Linked DNA regions of Homo sapiens: all the other regions are linked to region 4. Evidence: promoter capture Hi-C in 16 types of primary human blood cells and fetal thymus (Javierre and others, 2016). All regions are on one chromosome and are shown on one strand. The core of a region is centred on a gene start or on the middle of the fragment in contact, and the rest is flanking DNA. Distances in the headings are between cores, read along the strand shown. Region 1 overlaps SLC25A36 (solute carrier family 25 member 36). Region 2 overlaps TFDP2 (transcription factor Dp-2). Region 3 overlaps XRN1 (5'-3' exoribonuclease 1). Region 4 holds the start of RASA2 (RAS p21 protein activator 2).

The links. The method cuts DNA at HindIII sites, captures the fragments that hold promoters and counts their contacts. A CHiCAGO score of 5 or more calls a contact.
Region 1: a contact is called between a fragment that was not itself captured here and the fragment with the promoter of RASA2 in region 4, in 1 of 17 cell types (neutrophils). The highest score is 5.5, in neutrophils.
Region 2: a fragment that was not itself captured here is called in contact with the fragment with the promoter of RASA2 in region 4 in 1 of 17 cell types (fetal thymus); the score reaches 6.1 in fetal thymus.
Region 3: a contact is called between a fragment that was not itself captured here and the fragment with the promoter of RASA2 in region 4, in 1 of 17 cell types (neutrophils). The highest score is 6.1, in neutrophils.

What each region holds. Positions count from the first base shown.
Region 1 is chr3:140,943,885-140,946,703 of GRCh38, forward strand. All of the region lies in intron 1 of SLC25A36 (solute carrier family 25 member 36), which reads left to right. Among named protein-coding and RNA genes, the nearest start is that of SLC25A36, 3.5 kb to the left of the region's middle. The HindIII fragment of the contact is 4,988 bases long and covers 1-2,819 here.
Region 2 is chr3:142,025,738-142,028,674 of GRCh38, forward strand. The region is part of intron 3 of TFDP2 (transcription factor Dp-2); the gene reads right to left. Among named protein-coding and RNA genes, the nearest start is that of TFDP2, 120 kb to the right of the region's middle. RefSeq lists a silencer at 2,203-2,252 and an enhancer at 2,639-2,937. The HindIII fragment of the contact is 1,116 bases long and covers 1,130-2,245 here.
Region 3 is chr3:142,331,056-142,333,919 of GRCh38, forward strand. It overlaps XRN1 (5'-3' exoribonuclease 1), which reads right to left. Exons shown (of 41, transcript NM_001282857.2): 35 at 1,912-2,034; 36 at 1,320-1,479. Among named protein-coding and RNA genes, the nearest start is that of GK5, 110 kb to the left of the region's middle. The HindIII fragment of the contact is 6,055 bases long and covers 1-2,864 here.
Region 4 is chr3:141,485,204-141,488,276 of GRCh38, forward strand. It overlaps RASA2 (RAS p21 protein activator 2), which reads left to right and starts at 1,824. Exons shown (of 24, transcript NM_006506.5): 1 at 1,824-2,013. The coding sequence starts at 1,881. RefSeq lists a silencer at 1,733-2,612. The HindIII fragment of the contact is 5,296 bases long and covers 639-3,073 here.

The DNA of each region.
Region 1 (2,819 bases), core at 218-2,717, 540 kb before region 4:
GTTTTCTGGTTTAAGAACAGGAATGGGAGGTGTTTGTAGCATCTAAACACACAGATTAGGAGCTCCATCCCCTCCCCCCCAGTCTAGCATATGTAGTTAGAGTATTAAATGAGATATGGTATGTAGGATTTGATACAAGATAGGTGCTCAGCCGTATAATTTCTCTTCCTTTGCATCTCATCTTGATTTTATTTTTATATGTGGTTACATAAGTGAGTTCAGTAAAACACACCTTATCTTTTTAAAGGAAGCCCAGTATATTTTAAAAGAACCAAGAGTAACCTTTCACAGAGTATTTAATCTTAGGCAAGGGTTTTCCGAATATGGAGCCTTTAAGTTGTTTTTCTGATAAGTAGAATTGTAATATTCAAATATGTTTATCGGAATCCCACATTTCTAATAGCCTAGTAGCTGTATTGTTAAACACCAGCACTGGACCTTGGTTCTGGGTGAAATACTCACATGCATAACTCGTGCTTTCTTTAAGACACCCTTTGATCCCATTATGCTTTTGCCAGAGTTAATATTCAGAGTTTGTAAGGTCAGTAGTTAGGTTAATTGAGTTAAGGAACGATATCATGACAGCCTGTAAAAAAGGTGTAAATGTGATTTAATTTTAGCTGTACCTCTAATGTATGTATATAGAGATGAAAGCACTATTAAATGTATTTTTAAAGACTGATAGAATTGTACATTGTCTAGTTATTGTATCAGCTGCATATATCTACAGAGGCAGCTCATTTTTTTTCTATTTGAGGGAGATATTGTCTCAAATAGGAGCTATATACCTTAAGATTTTAAGTGGATGAAGTATTTTCTTTGCAGCTCTTATGACAGATAATTTAATATATGTAGTGAGTAAAATCAAAGATGATCTAAGAACTGTCTATTTTTATATCCTGGAGCTCATTCATTTGCTCAATCATTATTATTTATTCAGTAGGAAATTCCCATTTGGGTATAATGAACGATATTTGTTAAATTATTTCACCTGTTTGCTTGAAGATCAGGGCAGAAGTAGAATACTTAAAAGTATAATTAATGTGATTTATTTCCGCTTCACTCTGACCATATTTTTATTAGTCTCATTTCCTTAATTTTTACTACCTCTCCTTTTCCTCTGTCTTGCTCTGTTTAAGCTGCTATTACAAAATACCAAAAACTGGTGGCTTATAAATAACAAATATTTCTAACAGTCCTGAAGGCTGGGAAGTTCAAAATTAAAGCAGTAACAGGTTTTTTGATGATGGTCTACTTCCTCATAGAAGATACTCTCTTGCTGTATCCTCACGTAGTAGGAGAGGCTAGCCAAGATCTCTGGTGTCTTATAAAGGTACTAATCCCAAATGTCAGGGCTACAATCTCATGACCTAATCACCTTGAAAGCGTCTACCTCCTAATACTATCACCTTGGGATGTGAGTAGGATTTCATCTTACTAGTTTTGGGGGAGACAAACATTCAGACATCCTCCTTCCCTTTTTTTCCTTCTAAAAATGCATTCCGTTCTTCTTACTAATAGACTGCAAAACTAAGGGAAGTTTCTTATCCTGTTGGAGAATATTCTCAAATCATTTTTCTATAAATGAATTACTGTAGCACAGCAGCTACCATTTTTCTGCAAATGGATTAGTGTAGCACAACATTGTGGGTCAGGGATTCTCCTTCTTGAGACCCTTGTTGTGGTCTGAGAGTTTAAAACTATTTTCATAAAAATACATTATTGGCACAAATTTGTTGACATTTGTCCTGATGGTGCAAAAGCAATGATGGGTAAAACTGCTGATGCCTTAGCATGCATGAAGGCAGTGGCACCAGACTGTAGTCATCGTATTCACCTCCAGGTACTTGCAATTAAAAAAAAAAAAAAAAGCCAGTTTAACCTAAGAATGCTCATGAAGGAGTAAAAATACTAATTTTATTAAATCACAACCTTTGAATACCTCTATATTTAATATTTTGTGTGACAAAATGGGAAATAGACATGAAGTAACTGTATGCCGAAGTGTGGTTCTGCGTTGTTTCAATTGCAGGCTACACTAGCTTCTTTTTTTCATGGAGTCAGCCATGGGTAAAAAAGTCATTCAGATTTTAAAATAGACCAGTGGATTTTAATATAACAGTATGAAAAGTTTACTGGTATAGTTCAGATTCTACATTTCAGCTAACCTTTAAGAACCTACCACTTGTCTGGTTGTAATATAGTATTGAAGAATATCGACAACCGGACAGCAAGACAAGGGACTGTCTTGTCTAGTAATTGTTATCATTAACTAGAAGGCATTAAGTGCTGTGGGAAAAAAAATGGTGCACCTTAAAGGACTGTGGTAGGAGTGCACTCTAGTACTAAATCGAATGATGATGAATCTTACTGAGATGACATTTGAGTAAAGACTTGGAAGGGAGAGAATTAGCTATACAAAAGGAACTAGCCCCAGTAAGACCCTAGCCCTGGTAAGAGTGAGATAATGAAGCAGGTATGGCCAGAATGATAGAGCCTTCTTAAGCCTTTAAAGGACTTTGACCTTTTCTATTGAAATGGGAGGAGTCATAGAATTTTTAAAGGCTAATTGGTCTCTGCTAGACTATGCGTGGGACAGGGGCAGAAGTAGGGAGTTGATCAGGCTATTTCAATAATCCACTTGACTGATAATGGTGATTCAGACTAGGTTGGAAGCAATGGACATTGTGAGAAGTGGTTGAATTCTAGTTAGACTTCGAAGGTAAAGATAATAAGATTTTTGACATATTGAATGCAGAGTGTAGAAGAAGAGCGAAGAATAACTCCAGGGTTTTTAGTTTGGGCACCTGGAAGGGTGG
Region 2 (2,937 bases), core at 438-2,937, 540 kb after region 4:
CCTTAAGATAAGCAAAATGTACATAGATAAGTTTTAGAATCTGAATCTTAATTGAAATAATGATTCAATAAACTTCAAAGGCCAGGCGTGTGGGCGCATGCCTGTAATCCCAGCTACTTGGGGGGCTGAGGAAGGAGAATCGCTTGAACCCAGGAGGCAGAGGTTGCAGTGAGCCGAGATCACACCATTGCACTCCAGCCTGGGCAACAAGAGCGAAACTCCATCTCAAAAAACAAACAAACTTCAAAATCTCTAAATTTGGTCATCATTATTTGAAGAAAAGAAAATCTTCTGGCCGGCGCAGTGGCTCACGCCCATAATCCCAGCACTCTGGGAGGCCGAGGTAGGCGGATCTCAAGGTCGGGAGATCGAGACCATCAGGCCGAGGTGGGCAGATCACGAGGTCAGGAGATTGAGACCATCCTGGCTAACATGATGAAACCCCATCTCTACTAAAAATACAAAAAATTAGCTGAGCGTGGTGGTGGACGCCTGTAGTCCCAGCTACTGGGGAGGCTGAGGCAGGTGAATGGTGTGAACCTGGGACGCAGAGCTTGCAGCGAGATTCCGTCTCAAAAAAACAAAAAAACAACAAAAAAAAACAACAAAAAAATAACTTCAGGTAAGCCCACAGATCTTAGCTAACAGCAAGAGGAATTTTTAATAATCTGCTTGAATGTTGATATCTTTTCCAGCCTTCTCTCTCCTTAGGCCAATTATTTAGAAAACTGTATAATAATTAATCCATATGCAAATTTTAAACTATAGCTCAAAAACTTTATTGGCTACTGTAAATTACTACGAATTTTCCAGTGTAGGGTATGGCAAATATTGAATAAGTGCCTCATATGTGAAAGAGCTGGTGCTCAGCACTGATTTTTCAAGAGCAAACTTAAGAAATGAATAAAGTTGTAATGTGTATACACGCACATTATACAACAGCATAGGACTTCTTTGTGTTACTTGTAAAAGGAAAGGTTTTCACTTTCCTCATTATGAATTCCAAAAATTCAAAAACTGTTTTTCAAAATTTTGACTGCTTTCATTACACGCATAATGCTTCCACACTCTTCATTCCTACTCTTTTCAGCAGATAAACATTCTCCTCTTTCCATTAGCAACCAATCCAAGCTTATTATCTTTCTTTTTAGAGGCAAACTGCAACATATCATTTCAATTAAACCCAAAATATTACTCCCATATTTCTTATGCAAAGGTCTTAGGAATAAGCCTCAGCTTCTCACAGAAGATGAAATCATCTATCAACATATGTAACTGATGTTTCTCATTTTATTTTCATTTTGAGATTTTGTACCTACTGTCTAGTGATAAACTTTTGCAACTGTTTCCTCTATATTTTAGATGGCTTAGGCTTTAAAAAAATGGTCTATATGATTTAATTATCAATTTTTTCCTTAAGTGAAGTTCAACAGAATTAATTTTCTCACATTTTCATTAATTATACAGGCTACAGGCAATATTTAAAGTTTTTTTTTAAATATTGGGTATGTTACTCATTTTGTTACTCTATGACTTTCAATTCCTGAATATAAAATAATAAATTTTAAATGACTAAATTTTATTTATTCACTGATTAAATCAGATTTATGACCTCCTCTCTCCATTCCAGCTACTCTGAGTTTTGAATGAAACAACCTCAATTGTAACAGAAGAAACATCTGTTGCTTTTTTTCTTCACCAGGGCTTTCCTAACTGAAAGAAGAAAGACTCTCTGCCTGACCTCCTCTCCCTCTCCCTCTCCCTCTCCCACTCCCGCTCCCCACCCACACTAAGTTCCTTAAAACTTTTTTAAGTAAATGTATTATTTAAAATTTCACTGTATCTATTAAAAACATCATAGTTTAGAAACATTCACTTCCTTATTGAACTTCAAAGAATGACTAAATGCTATTATATATCAAAAAATAAGACGTGTCTAATAGAATATACGTTGTAACTAAAATGCAAACTTCAAGGGTATAATTGAAATGATCAATTCAATCAAGTTGTCATATATTCCGGGGTCATTAAGAATTGTTTAGGGGTAAGATTTTCTTCACAGTATCCAGATTCATATAGCATCTTGTATGCTATATTTTCTTTGCCAGTCCAAGGCTAACATAATGGCAGTCACTACCCCAAGAGGCAGACACCAAATGGTGCCACCCACACTCTCACACTGTGCCTCATAATAAACCATAAAGCAGTGGAATGCACCGGCCCCTTTATGAGCAAACAATGCCTAAGCTTCATTAGAATACAGCTGACATTTTCAAAGCACAAATACTTTTAAGAAAAATGTACTAGGGAAAAAAAGGAATGAAACAGCTATAAAAGCTGAAATATTTTTCAAGTGTCAGGTTGATTTCCAAGGATCCTTGGGAAGTATATTTTGCTGTTGGCAATTTAAAAGTTTTCGTAAGTGGAAAAAATGTTTAGTTAAGGGCAAAGCTTATTTTATTAACTACTGGGGAAAAAAATGAAAGTAAAAACTATCCTTTGAATTGCTTTCACAAGTAATAACCATGAAGTACCTTTAAAATTACTGATTTCCTCAACTGCTGCTTTAGTTCCTGAATTAAGAAAACTGAGCTCCAGAATTATTTTCACATTTTAATTAATTTATATAAGTAACTGAGTAATAAACTAATTCTTCCCCTCCCCCCCCACCCCAACCCCCATACATAACCCTGTAGTTTTTCTGTCTGCAACAAGCAAGGACGTCTTGAAATCAGCGTGCTCCTGGCTATTTATCAATTTAATATTGCTGCTGCTTAAAGAATATAAAATAAGAGCTGTAAAAACTCACCCAGCAGTGAGAAACAAACTGATCTCTCTTACCTGGTCTAAGGAAGCATGCCTCTCACTGCAGTACCAACAACATTCTACAGTCTTTGTTACCATTCAGTGGAAACTTGAGACTGTGTCAGACGTAAG
Region 3 (2,864 bases), core at 108-2,607, 850 kb after region 4:
GATCCACCCGCCTTGGCCTCCCAAAGTGCTGGCATTACAGATGTGGGCCAACGTGCCCAGCCAATTCCAGGTTTTGATCTTTAATACGCTTAGATCTGCTTATTCCAAAATGTTTTTGACTTCTCTGAGAAACTTCTGCCCACATCCACTTTTGTATCAGTCATTCTTCCTGGCTGCCTTTAGTAGATCATTATACAGATAAAATGCTAAAGTATAGAGGACATTCAGGGTAGGAACAAATATGGCGGATATTTACTGAAATCCAGTTATGTGCCAGATGTTATGCTATAGGCTTTACAGACTTAAGAGTATGACTCACTTTCCTATATCTAACTCTATTAATGATTTTTAATTGATTTTGTAGATTTTTCTATTTTTACAACAGTTAGGTTATTTTAACATAATATTAATATCAATTATTAGCACCTACAATGTGTTGGACATAGTGCTGTTTTATATTTATACATGTTATATAATTACCACAAGTAATCTGTAATGTATTATTCTTATTTTATAAATAAGAAACAAGATTTCAGAAAAGTTAAATAATGTATTTAAGTTACATGATAATTTTTAAATTACTGAGGACAAAAGCTAGAATGTGCAAACTTTTAAAGGTTTGGATGTCTACAGAATGATTATCTATAACACTACAATTAAGTAATCACAAGAAGACATTTAGTGACTGTAGATCTATTGGTTACATGGTTGTATTATTATTGTTCTTTTTGTTTTTTGAGACAGGGTCTATCTCTGTTGCCCAGGTTAGAGTGCAGTGGCGTGATCTTGGCTCACTGCAACCTCTGCCTCCAAGGCTCAAGCAATCCTACCACGTCAGCCTCCCCAGTAGCTGGGACTACAGGCACACGCCACCACACCTAGCTAACTTTTGTATTTTTTAGAGAGACAGAGTTTCCGCCATGTTGCCCAGGCTGGTCTTGAACTCCTGAGCTTAAGAGATCCGCCTGCCTCAGCTTCCCAAAGTTCTGAGATTACAGGCATGAGCCACACCTGGCCAGTTATATTATTATATAACTGAAACAAATATAAAAATTATAGTTTTAAGAATAAAAGTAGTTTTGGGCCAGGTGTGGTGGCATATACCTGTAATCCCAGCACTTTGGGAGGCTGAAGTGAGAGGATTGCTTGAGGTCAGAAGTTTGAGACCAGCCTGGCCAACACAGCAAGACACCATCTCTAAAATAAATAAATACATTAAAATAAAAGCAGTTTTATCTTTAAAAGTACATGATTAAAAAGAACCAAATGAATTGAATTTTTAAAATGATATTATTGGTAATAGTATTTAGTTTACTTACCTAATTTCTTATTTTGTTTAGGCTGAGAGGGTAATCCATATTCATCTCTTCTGTTAGAGGAAACAGGGATTTCATTAGCAATCTGTTTGATTTCATTCTTATGGTCCACAGTGTTAGAGCCATCAATTTTTAGAATTTCTTTAAGCATCCGTGTTCCCTTCTTTTTGAAAATGATTCACATGGAGATGGTGAGGGTGAAGAGAACAAAGTCAACATTACATCTGTAGAACTTATTGATCTTTCTTGGAAAGAATTCCATTGTTAACAATTAAGACATTAACTACATTCAGATAGAAACTGAAAAAAAAAAACCCAACACCCACATTTCTGATACAGAAACGATACTTATCCTCCTGCTTAACTTTCATCCCAGTTACCTAGTAGCAATGTTTGAAAAGCAGGGGAACTGTGGTCTAAAGAGAAAAAGTATGGCTAAATTGCCCAGGGCAGCCTGGTTTCCTCACAAGATGACAATAATGATGTAACATACCAGCCTCCATGATGGAAGTGTTTGAACACTTGCATGGGATATGTCTGCATGGTCAACAGTCGAGAAATTACCACAGTAAGAAAGTTCCTACAAAATACGAACCATGGCAAATGACTGTGGTGACAAATGCTCTTCACTTGGAGGCTCCCCATGATGAGATGACTGTACTTCATTTTCTTTGGAGATATTCAAAGATGCTAAAAAGTTCTCAATTCCAGAGTTAGGCTAAAAGAATAAATATTTTGGGCATGAAGATGAACGTATAATACAAGAACACACAAAAAGCTGAGTTTTATGTACAAAAATGGTCATTCGATTTTCACTCAATCATCTTCCCAGGTGTTAAAGTTTGGGAAGAGAATTGGAATAAATAGTTTTTTACCTTATCAATAGCATTTGGATAACCAGTCACAACCTTTTGGGTTTCTGAGACTTCTGGACTTTCATTTCTCTTCAATAGCTTAATATTATATTTGGCAGGCCCTTCTAAAGTCTATTAAAAAAGTAAGAATAAACTTTTTGTGCAAATATATTTATAGTTAATATGTAATAGTGTTCTAAATAAATTGTTGCAAAAAAATTTTATGTGCTATTTTCCCTTTTGTATCATAAGAAAAGGGGCCTATAAACTTGGATGGGGAAAATTACACCTTAATCTTCATTAACCTCTCAATGAGATTTAGCATTTCCTGCAATTATGAATATAGGCAACAAAACACTTATATGGTCTGCATGTTTGTATTCCCCCAAAATTCTTCTGTTAAAATCCTAACTCCTAATGGGATCATATTAGGAGGTGGGGCCTTTGGTAGGTAATTAAGTTTAGATGAGGTCTTTAGGGTGCAACATCCATGATGGTATTAGTGTCCTTATATGAATAGAAAGAGAATAGAGCTCTTTCTCTCCATCATGTTAGAATATGAGAAGACGCATCATCTGCAAGCCAGAAAGGGAGCCCCCACCAGACAATGGCACTTTACCGGATTCTAACTGTATTTCAATATAACTGGTTTTCTCTTAAATCTTTTTAGCATTAAAGACATTATTCTGCTAGT
Region 4 (3,073 bases), core at 574-3,073:
ACCAAAAATACAAAAATTAACTGGACATGGTGGCGCGCACCTGTAGTCCCAGCTACTTAGGAGGCTGACATGGGAGGATAGCTTGAGCCCAGGAAGTTGAAGCTGCAGTGAGCTGAGATCGTGCCACTGCACTCCAGCCTAGGCAACAGAGCAAGACTGTCAAAAAAAAAAAGAAAGAAAGAAAGAGAAGAAACAGAAACAGGTTTAGGAAGGTTGAGTAACTTGCCCAAATGTAAAAGGGGTAGAAACAGGCTCTATGTCTGATTCTAAAAAGGGATGCCTTTAAAAATAAGGGGGAAAAAACCCTGTAACACGTTGATACTCTTTAAATGAGAATAATTTTAACAAGGGCAATGACAGAGAATGGAAAGGAAGGAAGAGATTTCAGCAGAGTCAGAAGGATGTGGCAACTGAAAACAGCATTGGGACAAGGGATAAGAAAAAGTCAAAGTTTCTGGCCTGAGTAACAGTATAAGATGTGAACTCAGATTTGGAAAGGGAGACAGGAAATTAAGTTTTGGACTTATGTTTGAAATGACAGCAAAACATTCATATAAGAGGAAGTGGTTCACTTTATCCAACAAGTGTAAAGATCACATGGGGAAATAGAAGTCACCTGCAACACAGGCAGAACTGGAAGCTTCGCTGGCCAGGTCCATGTTAAACTCTGACCATTCTCTGGGGCTGTCCAGCCTTTGCACAGGCGGCGCGTTTGTCTTCAGTTTTCAGGTTTCCCCGTCCTATTTCTTATCTCCCAGTGCCTCTGGCCTTTTCTGTGTCTCCCTCCAGAATGAGCTGGAGCTCTCTTCATCTTGACCTTTGTGTAGTCTCTGAGGTCTGAGGCCATCACTATGTCTGACCCTCAAAAAATATTTGTTGACTGACTGGCTTATTCCTGTTGTTGCCCTGGAAAAGAATTACCCTGCCCGATTAAGTCACAGTTTCTTCCTTCTTAGGGCAGCGTAGTTAACAACCTCAACACCAGGAAATTGTCTTCCTCATCACATACCAGGGTATTATTCATGCAGTTTACTCACTGTAAAGAGTTCCCTTGAAATAAAGCTAACAATTAGTCAAAGATTTACACATTTCCTAGGGTCAGTCAACTTTTTAACAAAGCCAACTTTTAGTAGTGGTGGCGGTGGCGGGGGGGAGCCCTTCTTTGCTTTTTCTGTTCCTGAAATACAAAAGTGATGGTAAATGCTTCAGAATTTCTCTATGAGAGGGTCTCAGGCACTGCACTCACGCTGGAGTTGGGGGTGGCTGGTCCTTTTCTTGAACCAGGTTTTGCAGAGAATTGGTCCTAGTAAAGAGTATTTGTGTGGGAGGAGTTTGGCTTGCTGGCGGGGAGTATTTGGATAATACTGGAAGAGCCTCAAATGCATCTCTTGCCTCCTTTTGAATAAGATACTTTTGAGGTCCACCCACCTGCCAAATTCCATTCTATTTTCTTCCCACAGGGAGTTTCCCTGATTGGGAAGGGCCTGTATTTCCCGCGAGCGTTAGGAGATGTGCAGGTCTATTCATTGGGGGAGCCCAATTCCCGGGAGGATTTAGGGATCACGGGAGGGCCGGGGCGTTCTCCTGGTGGGGATTTTAAGGCCGCTCAGAGCCACGACTGGGAGCTACCCTTAGCCAGCGCCCCAAGCCGGGAGTACGGTTCTCTGCAGGGTAGCCCGGCTCGGGGGTGGCGAAGGCGGTGAATGGAGACCCGGGGGGGGCGGGGGCGGGGCCGCGGCGGGCGGGGCGGGGCGGGGCGAGTCGGGCCGAGGCCCGGGGGCGGGGCCAGGCGCGCGGCTGGCCTGGGCCTAGGCCGCTGCTGGGCTCCGCCTCGCCCGGCTACGCAGGCGGCAGGGCTGCGGCACGGGCCGGGCGGCACCATGGCGGCGGCGGCGCCTGCTGCTGCGGCGGCTTCTTCCGAGGCGCCAGCGGCGAGTGCGACTGCAGAGCCCGAGGCCGGGGACCAGGACAGTCGCGAGGTTCGAGTGTTGCAGAGCCTGCGGGGCAAGATCTGTAAGCGGGGGCTGGGCTGAGGGGACGCCCTGGCGGCGCTGGGCGCGAGGCTGAGGGGGCGGCGGGTTCGCGGCGGTGGCGGCGCCGAGCTGCGCTGGGATCGCGGGCCCGGGAGGGGGCCTGGGCCGGGCGCGGTTGAGGCTGGAAGGGGGTGTGTTGGGGGGCGGCGTCGCCTCGACGGGGCGGCGTGGGCCGGGGCTGCTGCTCTCCGGAGGGAGTGGGAGCTGGAGATGGGCCTGGGGTGGGAGAGCCCGGGCTGCGCCGGCGTGAGGGGCTCGGTCGTGGGGAGCGGCCTGGACGCGGGGACGCTGGAGTCCGGGGCGCGGCCGGGGGCGCGGTCCGGGGGCGTGAGGAGCTTCCGGCCGCCCTCAGACTCAGGCCTTCGCGCGGCTGCGGGCGCTGGGGAGTGGCCCCGCGGTGGGAGCCGAGCAGTAATTATACGGAGGCGCGGCCCGAGGAGGTGGCGGGCTGGGAAGTGGGGCTGGCCCGAGGGGAGGGGGCTGTTCGTTTCCTGGGCTCGGCGAGCCTGGGAGAGGTTGAAAAAGGCGCCCTGAGCTGCAGGAAACGGGCCGCCCTGGGGCCCGAGTGGCTACCGCGCGGTCTGTTCGCGGGTGAGCGCCCCGGGAGGAGCTCGGCGGGACACCTGTACTTGCCCCACCTCGCTGCGGCCGGGACTTGAATCGAGGGACGGCGTGACAGGCGGGACTAAAGGCAGGATGTAGTGGCTTCCTGTGAGCAGGTCTCAAAACACAATCACCCAGCCCGCACTCAGCCCGCTTAATTCCCTTCCTTCTCATGCGTGTAATTGCTACTTTAGTGAGCGAGCCTACCAGTTGACTAAATACGAAATTTTGCTCAGAGTTGTCCGAGCATTACTGTGGACAGATTATTTGAGTTCTGTCATTTGAACATTTTAGTTTTAAAAACGACCCTTTGGTGTCAGGTTGCCATTTTTTTTTTCACAGTGGTTTATTTAGATGAAGTGCTTTTTGTTTTCTGTTTGTAAGAGAGATCAATAACATTTATTTTTGCATTTGTCGAAAATTAGCATTATTTTCTT